2 separate regions of the Homo sapiens genome follow, and region 1 is linked to region 2. Evidence: promoter capture Hi-C in human tissues and cell types (Jung and others, 2019). All regions are on one chromosome and are shown on one strand. The core of a region is centred on a gene start or on the middle of the fragment in contact, and the rest is flanking DNA. Distances in the headings are between cores, read along the strand shown.

What was found. The method cuts DNA at HindIII sites, captures the fragments that hold promoters and counts their contacts. A contact is called where the count stands out against the background at its distance.
Region 1: a fragment that was not itself captured here is called in contact with the fragment with the promoter of SLC5A11 in region 2 in 2 of the 25 tissues and cell types used here (heart right ventricle and spleen).

Annotation. Positions count from the first base shown.
Region 1 is chr16:25,176,138-25,181,934 of GRCh38, forward strand. It overlaps LCMT1 (leucine carboxyl methyltransferase 1), which reads left to right. Exons shown (of 11, transcript NM_016309.3): 11 at 1,864-2,091. The coding sequence ends at 1,886. Among named protein-coding and RNA genes, the nearest start is that of LCMT1-AS2, 30 kb to the left of the region's middle. The HindIII fragment of the contact is 5,979 bases long and covers 658-5,797 here.
Region 2 is chr16:24,842,502-24,848,277 of GRCh38, forward strand. It overlaps SLC5A11 (solute carrier family 5 member 11), which reads left to right and starts at 3,462. Exons shown (of 17, transcript NM_001352248.3): 1 at 3,462-3,511; 2 at 3,731-3,937. The HindIII fragment of the contact is 12,271 bases long and covers 1-4,786 here.

The sequences.
Region 1 (5,797 bases), core at 2,397-4,896, 330 kb after region 2:
CGGAGAACAGGCGTGGATCTATCTCTGTTTCTTGTTACCTTTGTCCTGGTCCAGCTCCTTTTCAGCTGCCCCCTGCTGGGCTTGCCTCCCCCAGTGGTTAGGCTTTGAGTGTCTCTCCAGCCCGATGGAGGCCACTTTAGATCCCAGTTCCGGCCTTCAGTGGAATAGCTGCCCTTCAAGCTTCCCGCAGATGTAATCCACATGACATGTGGTCACAAGCGGGCAGCTGATCCGAAACAGAACTTGACAGAGGCAAGGACCATTCCCTATGCAAAAATTCCAGGTTGACATGAGACTGATAATCAGCCCCTTTGGACCTGTCATTCCACACAGATTTGCCTAGCTATGCAGCTCAGCCCACACAATCCTTTCACATTTGTTTTGTTTGGTTTTGGTTTTTGTTTTTTTTTGGCTTTTTTTTTTTTTTTTTTTTTTTTTTTTTTGAGATGGAGTCTTGCTCATTGTCCAGGCTGGAGTGCAGTAGCATGATCTCGTCTCACTGCAACCTCCGCCTCCTGGGTTCAAGTGATTCTCCTGCCTCAGCCTCCTGAGTAGCTGGGATTACAGGCGTCCACCACCATGTCCAGCTAATTTCTGTATTTTTGGTAGAGATGGGGTTTCACCATGTTGGCCAGGCTGGTCTCGAACTCCTGACCTTAAGTGATCTGCCTGGCTCGGCCCCCCAAAGTGCTGGGATTATAGGCATGAGCCATTGTGCCTGGCCTTCACATTCCTTTTGGATTTAAAGTCATTTATTGTGAATTGAGCGCAGTGGCTCATGCCTGTAATCCCAGCACTTTGGGAGGCTAAGGCAGGCAGATCACCTGAGGTCAGGAGTTCGAAACCAGCCTGGCCAACATGGTGAAATCCCGTCTCTACTAAAAATACAAAATTTAGCTGGGCGTGGTGGCACATGCCTGTAGTCCCAGCTACTTGGGAGGCTGAGGCAGGAGAATCTCTTGAACCCGGGAGGCAGAAGTTGCAGTGAGCTGAGATGGCACCACTGTACTCCAGCCTGGGCAACAGAGCGCGACTCTGTCTCCAGAAAAAAAAAAAAGTCACTTATTGGGGTATTTGTATGTTATCCTCCTCTTAATTATATTAAAAAATACTTCTTAGTAGGAAACTTAAAAGCTTCTAAAAAGTATGACTAAGAAAATCCACCTGTATGCCTGTCAGTCAGAGATGACCTCTTGTGACTTTTCCCTTCCCCTCTATTTCTAAATAGTGTTTTGTTTGTTTTTATAATAAGAGTTGAATTTTTATATTTATGCAACTTTGATTTCAAGTGTTTTCAATTTAATGTTATAACATTAGCATTTCCCCCTGGCAATTAAAAATGCTCAATGAGCATAATTGTAATGGCTTTATAATATTGTATTATGTCACTATGGCTGAATTAATATTTCCATATTTTTGGAAATGTAGGTTATTTGTAATACTTTTAAGTGAACTCTAGTTCTCACAAAGGAACAATATATTGAGCATTTTAATGTCAGGAATTTACTTTGTCCCCACTGACCCGTGACTGCTTTGGGACATCAGTGCTTGTCTGTGTGTGTGGAAGATCCGTATCTGCCTTTGCTCAAAGTTCAGCACATAAAGGGTAGATTTTTGGCGTTAACTGCAGACAGTCCATAAACTGTTATAATGTTTTCTTAATCATTTTAAAACCACCCATAAACACAGTCTTACCCAACCTTTTGTTTCCTTGCGAAACCTCATTTTATGTAGCAGGAGGGCGGTGCTACAGTGGTCAGCAGTGTGGCTGGTGCCCCTGAGCCGGTCACTGGGGGTCCTCTAGGGGCCTCTGCTCCTGGCCACCAGAGTCTCCTAATGGTGTCTGTGTGTCTCTCCCCTCAGGGCTGAAGGAGATAACTTATTAATCTGTCGAAGGCTTATGCCGAGCCAGAAGCCGAAGCCACTTGCCCTCCTGGAGGAGACCTGCAAGCTCCCTGAGCGGTGGGCGGGCCTCGTCCGCAGGTCTCATCCCACACTCTTGAGAAGCCTTGGTCACTACAGTGGTCGCACATGTTCCTCTTCCTGTTCCTGTTGACATGTCGTTGTTTAAATAAATCTCACTTGCCACCAGTCGCCTGTGGTTGGACCTCTGCTGGCTGCCGCTGCTCGTTCCGTGCCCCATGGCTTGGGCGGGCCAGGGTTCACCTCTGTGTTAGCTAAAGCCAAGGACCCCAAGTCTGCTTTGACCTTGGCTTACTCCCTGTGAGTCACACCCGGCCCATGACCTTGAGTCCATTTTAGGATCTACTCCCTCACATGCTGTTTGTTGCAGCACATGACATTGTGCCTCACTCCCTGACCCTTGTCCTCCACCAGATGTGAGGCTAGTGCTCTTCTCGGGCTCCTGTCTCCGCCCTGGCCACACTGGCCTGCTCAGTTGCCTCCTTCATCTTGGTCATGGTGGCAGGCTGAAGAATGGCCCCTAAAGTGTCCATGTCCTGATCCCCAGAACCTGTGAGTGTGTGTTACCTTCTGTGGCAAAGGGGCTTTGCAAATGGGATTAGGGGTTTGAGATGAAGAGGTGGTCCTGGGTTATCCAGGTGGGCCTGATAGGATCACGGGGTCCTCATTAGAGGGACAGACGAGGCGTCAGAGTCAGAGGGGCCCAGACAAGAAGCAGGGGCAACCAGGGGATGCTACCTAGGGCAATAGCAGCAGACCCTCCCTTGGCCTCCAGCTGGAACTGCCTGCCAACACCTTGATGTTAGCCCAGAGAAATCGATTTCAGATTTCTCACCTCCAGAGCCGTAAGAGAATACATCTGTGGTGGTGGTTTTTTTTTTTTTTTTTTCTTTTTTTTAGATGGAGTCTTGCTCTGTTGCCCAGGCTTGGAGTGCAGTGGCGCGATCTCGGCTCACTGCACCCTCTGCCTCCCGGGTTCAAGTGATTCTTCCGCCTCAGCCTCCCAAGTAGCTGGGATTACAGGTGCATACCATCATGCCTGTCTAATTTTTGTATTTTTAGTGGAGATAGAGTTTCACCATGTTGGCCAGGCTGGTCACGAACTCCTGACCTCAAGTGATCCGCCCGTCTTGGCCTCCCAAAGTGCTGGGATTACAGGCATGAGCCTCTGTGCCCAGACTGATCTGTGGTGTTTTGAGCCACCAAGTTGGGGGCTTAAACTTACAGCCACAACTAGAAGTCAATGCAGTTATGAGACAGGTTCATAGGGCCCCTGAGTGATGACCTCATATTTCAGAAACATAAGGCTTGTCCCATACCTGTCTGCTGAACTCCCTGAGTGATGGGTAGACCTTGTCTACAGGGACTTCTTAAGTTATGTGACTGGCGCTGCGAGCCTGAACCTGCATGTGCAGGGTGGCACTGCAGAAGTCCCCAGCGCTCTCCTCTGCTGGAGAGGTAACAGCCTCTCTTCTACCATTCAGAATCCTTAAATCAGTGTCCCCTAGAGTGTGGGCCCTGCACCTCTAGTGGCATGCCAGTTGATGGGATGTGTTCCTATCAATAAATACCTGTGATAAAATGTATAAATTAGGTGCAGTAAGACTAGCAACAATTTAAAAAAGAACAACTATAGCAATATGTTAAGGTTATGTGAATGTGGTCTTTGAAGATATCTTAACTGGCCGAGTGCAGTGGTGCACGCCTGTAATCCCAGCACTTGGGGAGGCCAAGACAGGTGGATCCTGAAGTCAGGAGTTCGAGACCAGCCTGGCCAACATGGTGAAACCCCCCCCCCACCGCCCCGCCGCCTGTAATTCCAGCTCTTTGGGGGGCTGAGATGGGCAGATCACAAGGTCAGGAGTTCAAGACCAGCCTGGCCAACATGGTGAAACCCTGTCTCTACTAAAAATACAAAAAAAAAAAAAAAAAAATCCGGGCTTGGTGGCAGGCATCTGTAAGGCAGGAGAATTGCTTGAACCCAGGAGGCAGAGGTTGCAGTGAACCGAGATTGCGCCACTGCACTCCAGCCTGGATGACAGAGCAAGACTCCATCTTGGAAAAAAAGAAAATATCTTAGCTATACTCACTTATTTTTGGACCTCAACTGACCTCAGGTAACGGAAACCTTGGAAAACAAAACCACAGGAAAGGGGTAACTCTGGTATATGTATAGCATTAGCAGAAACAATGTTTACTTTTTTTATTGAGACGGAGTCTTGCTCTGTCACCTAGCCTGGAGTGCAGTGGCGCGATCTCAGCTCACTGCAAGCTCCACCTCCCGGATTCACGCCATTCTCCTGCCCCAGCTTCCCAAGTAGCTGGGACTACAGGAGCCCGCCACCATGCCCAGCTAATTTTTTTTGTGTTTTTAGTAGAGATGGAGTTTCACCACGTTAGGCAGGATGGTCTCTATCTCCTGACCTCGTGATCCACCTGCCTCGGCCTCCCAAAGTGCTGGGATTACAGGCGTGAGCCGCCGTGCCTGGCCCCACAATGTTTACTTTTTGTTGTTGTTGTTTTCAGAAAGGGTCTTGCCCCATCTCCCAGGCTGGAGTGCAGTAGTGCAGTCATAGCTCTCTGCAGCCTCAACCTCCTTGGGCTCAAGTGATCCTCCTTCCTCAGCCTCCTGAGTAACTGAACCACAGGCACACACCAGCAAGCCTGGCTATTTTTAACTTTTTTTGTGGAGACAGGGTCTCCCTATGTTGCCAGGGGTGGTCTTGAACTCGGGTTCAAGTGATCCTCCCATCCGTCCTATTCCAAATTTGATATTGAAATTAGGCCAGTTAATAACCCTACAATGGCCTCTACATGCTCAAGTGAAAGGAAGAGTCACAAAGAGTCACATGCCTTTCACTTTAAATCAAAGCTGGAAATGATTAAGCTTGGTGAGGAAGGCACGTCAAAAGCTGAAATAGGGTCGGCTGTGGTGGCTCATGCCTGTAATCCCAGCACTTTGGGAGGCCGAGGTGGGCGGATCACCTGAGGTCAGGAGTTTGAGACCAGCCTGGCCAACATAGTGAAACCTCATCTCTACTAAAAGTACAAAAATTAGCCTGGTGTGGTGGCAGGCGCCTGTAGTCCCAGCTACTTGGGAGTTTGAGGCAGGAGAATCGCTTGAACCTGGGAGGCAGAGGTTGCAGTGAGCGAAGATGGCACCACTGCACTCCAGCCTGGGTGACAGAGTGAGACTCCATCTGAAAAAAAAAAAAAAAAAAAAAAAAACTGAAATAGGCCGAAAGCTAGACCTCTTGTGCCAAACAGCCAAGTTGTGAATGCAAAGGAAAAGTTCTTGGAGGAAATGAAAAAGTGCTACTCCAGTGAACACATGAATGATAAGAAAGCGAAACTGTATTATTACCGATATGGAGAAAGTTTGAGCGGTCTGTATAGAAGATCAAACCAGCCACAACCTTCCCTTAAGCCAAAGCCTAATCGAGAGCAGGGCCCTAACTCTCTTCAATTATGTGATGGCTGAGAGAGGAGAGGAAGCTGCAGAAGAAAAGTTGGAAGCTAGCAGAGGTTGGTTCCTGAGGTTTAAGGAAAGAAGCCGTCTCCATAACATAAAAGTGCAAGGTGAAGCAGCAGGTGCTGATGGAGAAACTGAAGCAAGTTGTCCAGAAGATCCAGCTGAGATCATTGATGAAGGAAGGTGGCTACACTAAACAACAGATTTTCAATGTAGGCAAAACAGCTTTCTCTTGCAAGAGGATGCCATCTAGGACTTCCAAAGCTAGAGAGGAGAATTCAATGCCTGGCTTCAAAACTTCATAGGAAAGCCTGACTTCTTAGTGTCTAGTATGAAATGCAGCTGGTGACATTAAGTTAAGGTCAGTGCTTATTTACCATTCTGAAAATCCTAGGGCCCTTA
Region 2 (5,776 bases), core at 2,212-4,711:
CATCCTGGGTGATAGAGTGAGACTTGGTCAAAAAAAAAAAAAAAAGCATAAGTGTTCATCCTTCAATTCACGGGGTTTTACCAATTGTATATACCGTATAATTACCACCCAATTCAAGATAATAGAAATTTCCATCACCTCTGAGAGCACACTCCCACCCTCTTCCAGTTGTTCACTGGGTCCTGTTCTTTGACTTCTGTCACCACAAATCCATCTTTCCTGTTCTTGAGCCTCACATAAATTGAATCATAAGGTCTGTACTCTTTTCATGTCAGCTTTTTTTTTTTTTTTTTTTTTTTTTTTTTGAGATGGAGTCTTGCTCTGTCTCACCCAGGCTGGAGTCCAGTGGCGTGATCCTGGCTTACTGCAGCCTCCACCTCCTGGGTTCAAGCAATTCTCCTGTCTCAGCCTCACGAGTAACTGGGACCACAGGCGCACACCACCACAGCAGGATAATTTAATTTTATATTTTTGGAAGAGACAGCGTTTTACAACATAGGCCAGGCTGGTCTCGAACTCCTGACCTCAGGCGATCCACCCACCTCGGCCTCCCAAAGTGCTGGGATCACAGGTGTGACCACCGCACCCAGCCCAGGTCAGCTCCTTTTGCTCAGCATAATGTTTCGTAGAGTCTTCGATTCATCCGTGGTGTTGCGTGGGTTGGGTAGTTCATTCCTTTCGATGAAAGTTTTTCACGGTGTTGGATGCACCGCAGTTTGTTTCTTCACTCACCTGTCGATGGAACTGGTGTTGTTTCCACTTAGAAACAGTTTTGAATAAGGCCACCATGAACACTTGTGTGCACAACTTTTTGGGAACATATGTCTCCATTTCTCTTGATAAATACCTAAGAGTGAAATTGCTGGGTCATGGGGGAGGTGTATGGTAACTTTATTTATTTATTTATTTAATTTTATTTTTTAGATGGAGTTTCGCCTTGTCACCCAGGCTGGAGTGCAATGGCACGGTCTTGGCTCACTGCAACCTCCATCTGCCTCCCAGGTTCAAATGATTCTCCTGCCTCAGCCTCCTGAGTAGCTGGGATTACAGGGGCCCACCACAACACCCAGCTAATTTTTGTATTTTTAGTAGAGACGAGTGCAGGCTGGTCTTGAACTCCTGACCTTGTGATCCACCCACCTTGGCCTCCCAAAGTGCTGCGATTACAGGCATGAGCCACCGCGCTCGGCAAAGTGTATGGTAACTTTATAAGAAATGTCCAAATAGTTCTCTAAAGTGGTTATACAGTTCTTTTTTTTTTTTTTTTTTTTTTTGAATTGAGATCTCATTCTGTTGCCTCGAGTGTAGTGGCACTATCATGGCTCACTGCAGCCTTGAACTCCTGGGCTCAAACGATTCTCCCACCTCAGTCTCCTGAGTAGCTGGGACTACAGGTGCACACTGCTATGTCCATCTAATTCTTCCTATTTTGTGTAGAGATGAGGGTCTCACTGAGTTACCCAGACTGGCCTCTAACTCCTGGCCTCAAGAGATCCTCCTGCCTCAGCTTCCCAAAGCTCTGAGATGATAGCATGAGCCCCTGCACTCCACCTCTCCTATTCTTTATAGCACTGAGGGTAAAAATGAAAAACCTGACAGAGAAACAATCGGAGGTGACAAGCCAAGGGTCGAGCAGGCCACATCTGGCCCTCAAGGATGCGTAATCATGAAACTTTGCAGAACTTCTCTAGAACAATCAGAAGTTCTGACCCCATTGGGCCTGTCTTCCCCCACGTGGAGCTGGGTCGTGGCTGTCCTCTTCAGCTGGGACACATGCTCTCGGGTCAGCCTCAGCTCCACCTGCCCGGCTTCACTCACTACCACGCCTCTTCTGTAGACACCCTGCACATGGCTAAGGCTCCCCAGACATTCCCAAGAAGTCAGGACTGGACCCCAGGTTGGCGAAGCAGTGCACCCTCGGTGGCACCCCACTGCCTTTCCTGGTGCTGTGGCCTCTGCTGCAGATCACAGATTCATGGCCTTCTGTCTGTCCCTCTTCTCCAATCCCAGCTGTTCCTTCTGTAAATCTGTCCCCCAGGGCAGGTCCCTCCCCCAAAGGCCCCATTCATACTGGTGTTGGTCAGTCACCCAGTGTTTGCTCACCCAGGCCACCCTTTATCCAGTCAAGCCACCCTCCACTGCTCCTGCAGGACTCTAGAGCCAGGTGGCCTGGGCTGAAATCTTGCTGTGTCACTTACAACCCGGGTGATCCTGGGCCGATGACTCATCTCCTCTACCTCTGTTACCTCGTCAGTAAGATAGAGATAACAGGACCTAACTTCGAGGGTTGTTGGAAAGACCAAGTGAGTAAAGGCATGTTGTGCCCTTAGAGCCTGGCACGTGTTCATCACTGCTATTATTTCTGGCTACTCGGTGCCAGGACAGGGGCCTCAGCTGAGGGCCCCCCAGAGCCTGGCAGGCCCAGTGAAGGAGTGAGATGGGGAGGCCACGACTCCTCCCCAGTCAGCAGCTGTCCTGTGGCCATGGGGGCCTGGTGAGGCCAGATCTTCAGGTTGTTCTAGAAAAGTGAGTATTCTAGAATTATGTTTCAAGCCTCTTGGTTTGCAAATACTAGTAACTATTTTTAAAATGTTTTGGTATTTGGCCTGGCACAGTGTTTGACCCCTGTAATCCCAGCACTTTGGGAGGCCAAGGTGGGAGGATCACTTAAACCCAGGAGTTGGAGACCAGCCTGGGCAACATAGCAAGATTCTCTCTCTACCAAAAAAATGAAAAAATTAGCTGGGTGTGGTGGTGCACGCCTGTAGTCCCAGCTACTCGGGAGGCTGTGGTGGGAGGATCACTTGAGCCCAGGAGGATGAGCCTGCAGCAAGCTGTGATGCCACCACTGCACTCCAGCCTGGGTGACAGAGTGAGATCCTGTCTCAGAAATAAAAAGTAAATAAAGTTTTGGATGCTTTGAGCATCTGGCAGAAATCTTCGCTATGCCCCGCTGATGTCCTGGGCCCGATGTGGGCGCCTGGCCATGGCTCGGTCACTCCTGACGGTTTTTCAGGGCCTCAGACACCTCTTCTTCTTCTTCTTCTTCTTTTTTTGAGACTGATTTTCGCTCTTGTTGCCCAGGCTGGAGTGCAATGGTGTAATCTCGGCTCACCACAACCTCCGCCTCCCGGATTCAAGTGATTCTCCTGCCTCAGCCTCCCGAGTAGCTGGGACCACAGGCATGCACCACCATACCCGGCTAACTTTGTATTTTTAGTAGAGATGGGGTTTCTCCATGTTGGTCAGGCTGGTCTCGAACTCTCGACTTCAGGCAGACACCTGTTCTTTGCCATGCCTCTGTCTGAAGAGTATATGGAAAGGGGTTGCACAAGCAATGGTTGCTGTTCCTGTTGCTGCCACTGCGGTGAGGGCTGTGGCTGGACGTCCCTCCTGGCACTTTGCCTCTGTCCCCTCCATCCGCCGCCAGCATTTTTCCTCCCCTCCCCTTCCTCCAGCTCGTCCCAAGCCTGCCTGTCCCCAGCGTGGAGGCGGGACAGTGGAAGACTGGGTGAGTGAAGCAGGATGGTGCCTTGGGCTCCAGCGTCTCCCCAACCCCTCCATGCCATGGGTCCCCACGCAGGTGAGGACCCTGGTGGAGGACGGTGTGGGCAGAGCGTGGGACATGTCACCTTCCCCACCTGCTCAGAGTTCAAGGGTCCTGGGCTGGGCCCCGTTCTCTCTTCTGCCCTGGGGAGATCATTCACGCTTCCTTTAATCCCCGCTGCAGCTGAGGCTGGAGTTTGGAGTTTGACCCGCTTGGAGGCTCTCTCAGCAGCGGGCATATAGGAGGAAGGGTCACTGCTGTCTCCGGAAGCTCTTGGCTGCAAAGAGAGAGGATCCCGGGTATCTCCCTCCTTACAACCACCGCCACCTCCTAGTGCCTTAGAAGCCACTGACAGCCCCCAGGGCAGGTGAGCCCTGCATCTGGAATAAGGTAAGACACCCCCTGCCCCCAAACAGGTAGCCACTCTCCAAACTGGGAAGTTGGTCTGGGGACAGGTGCTGGCAGAAGGACTCCAGCTGTCACCTGTGGGGCAGGGGAAGCTCAGCCCTCTCTGCAGAGAAAGCTTGTCATACACCAGGACAATGGAGTGTGTTTGTGGGGTGGGCATGGTGGTATGAAGCCAGCAGCCGGCAGCCAGCAGCACCGTACGTGGGTCCCAGCTCTTCCACTTAACCAAGGTCAGGGACATTGAGCCAAACATTTTGCCTCACCGAGTCTCAGGTTCCTTATCTGTCAAATGGGAATATGAACCTCAGGCTGACCCACCCCACAGGTGTGTTACCCAGAGATAACGAAGGTAAATGTATCCACATAAGCATTAAAAAGCTATAGGAATGTATTTACTACAACTGCAGCTGCTGTTAACTACAAGGCAAATACAAGTCTTCACTGGTACGTGTCAGACACGTGCAGAGAACTTTACGCCTGGATCTCATCTAACTGACACAGAAACCCTGTAAGGTAGGTACAGCACCCCCTAATTCATGGACAGAGTCTAAGGGTCATTAAATAACTTGCTCAAGGTAATACAGATAGTGAGTGGCCAAGCCAAGACTCAATTCCTGTGGCCATGAGCTCAGCCACAATATCAGTGATTTTCTTTTTCTTTCCTTTCTTTCTTTTTCTCTTTCTTTCTTTTTCTTTCTTTTCCTTTCTTTTCTTTGTTCTTTCTTTCTTTCCTTCTTTCTTTTATTTCTTTCCTTATTCCTTTCTTTCCCTTTCTTTCTCCTTCCTTCTTTCCTTCCTTCCCTCCCTCCCACCTCTCTGTTTCTCTTTCTTTTCCCTTTTTTCTTTCTTTCTTTCTTTCTTCTCTCTCTTTTATTATTTATTTCTTCCTTTCTTTCCCTTTCTCCTTCCTTCTTTCCTTCTTTGCCTCCTCTCTCTCTCTGTGTGTGTTTTCTGTTCTCTCTCTCTCTCGTTTCTTTTCTGTCTTTTCTTTCACAGGGTCTCTCTGTGTTGCCCAGGCTGAAATGTAGTACTATCATAGCTCACCAGCATGCCCTGCTAACTTTTTTATTTTTATTTTTTGTACAAATGGGGTCTCCCTGTGTTGCCTTGGCTGGTCTCAATCTCCTGAACTCAAGCGATTCTCCCGCCTCAGCCTTGCAAAGTGCTGGGATTACAGGCATGAGCCACTGCACCCTACCAATCAGTGGTTTTCAAATGGTGTTCTGCTGAATTATTCTGGGCAATAGTTGACAGAAGTGTCCTAGCCCATTGGGCATCCTGCAGATAGGACTTGGAAAAATGCTGTCCCTTTTTTGGGCGGTCACAGCGTGCAAAGGATCTATAGCAAAGGCTCTAAAAATCCCACATTTATTTGTTGTACCAACATTTATTGCATGCCTGTTTTGGGGACACAATGAGAGTGACAGAGACATGGACCTTTCTTTATGGGGCTTGCTGTGCAGTGCAGACAAGGGGTAATCACACACATCAAGTGTTACACTTGATTAGACTGTGATGAGAAGTTGTGTTTGCCATGAAAGCAAAAAGCTTGGGGACCCAATTTATATTGAGGCCAAGAGGGGGCTCCTTTGGGGATATACAGCAGGCTGACATCTAAAGGATGAGTAGGAGCTTGTCCAGCAAAGAGTGCAGGGAAGAGCATCCCAGGCAGAGGGAACAGAATGGCAAAGACCCTGAGGCCAGAAATCGTGTTCCAGGAATAAAATGAATGCTAGTATGTGGTGGGGTTGGAAGCACAACAAAGCACCCCAGCAGCATGGAGATGTTTTGAGCAGGAAAATGATCTGATCTGACTCATAC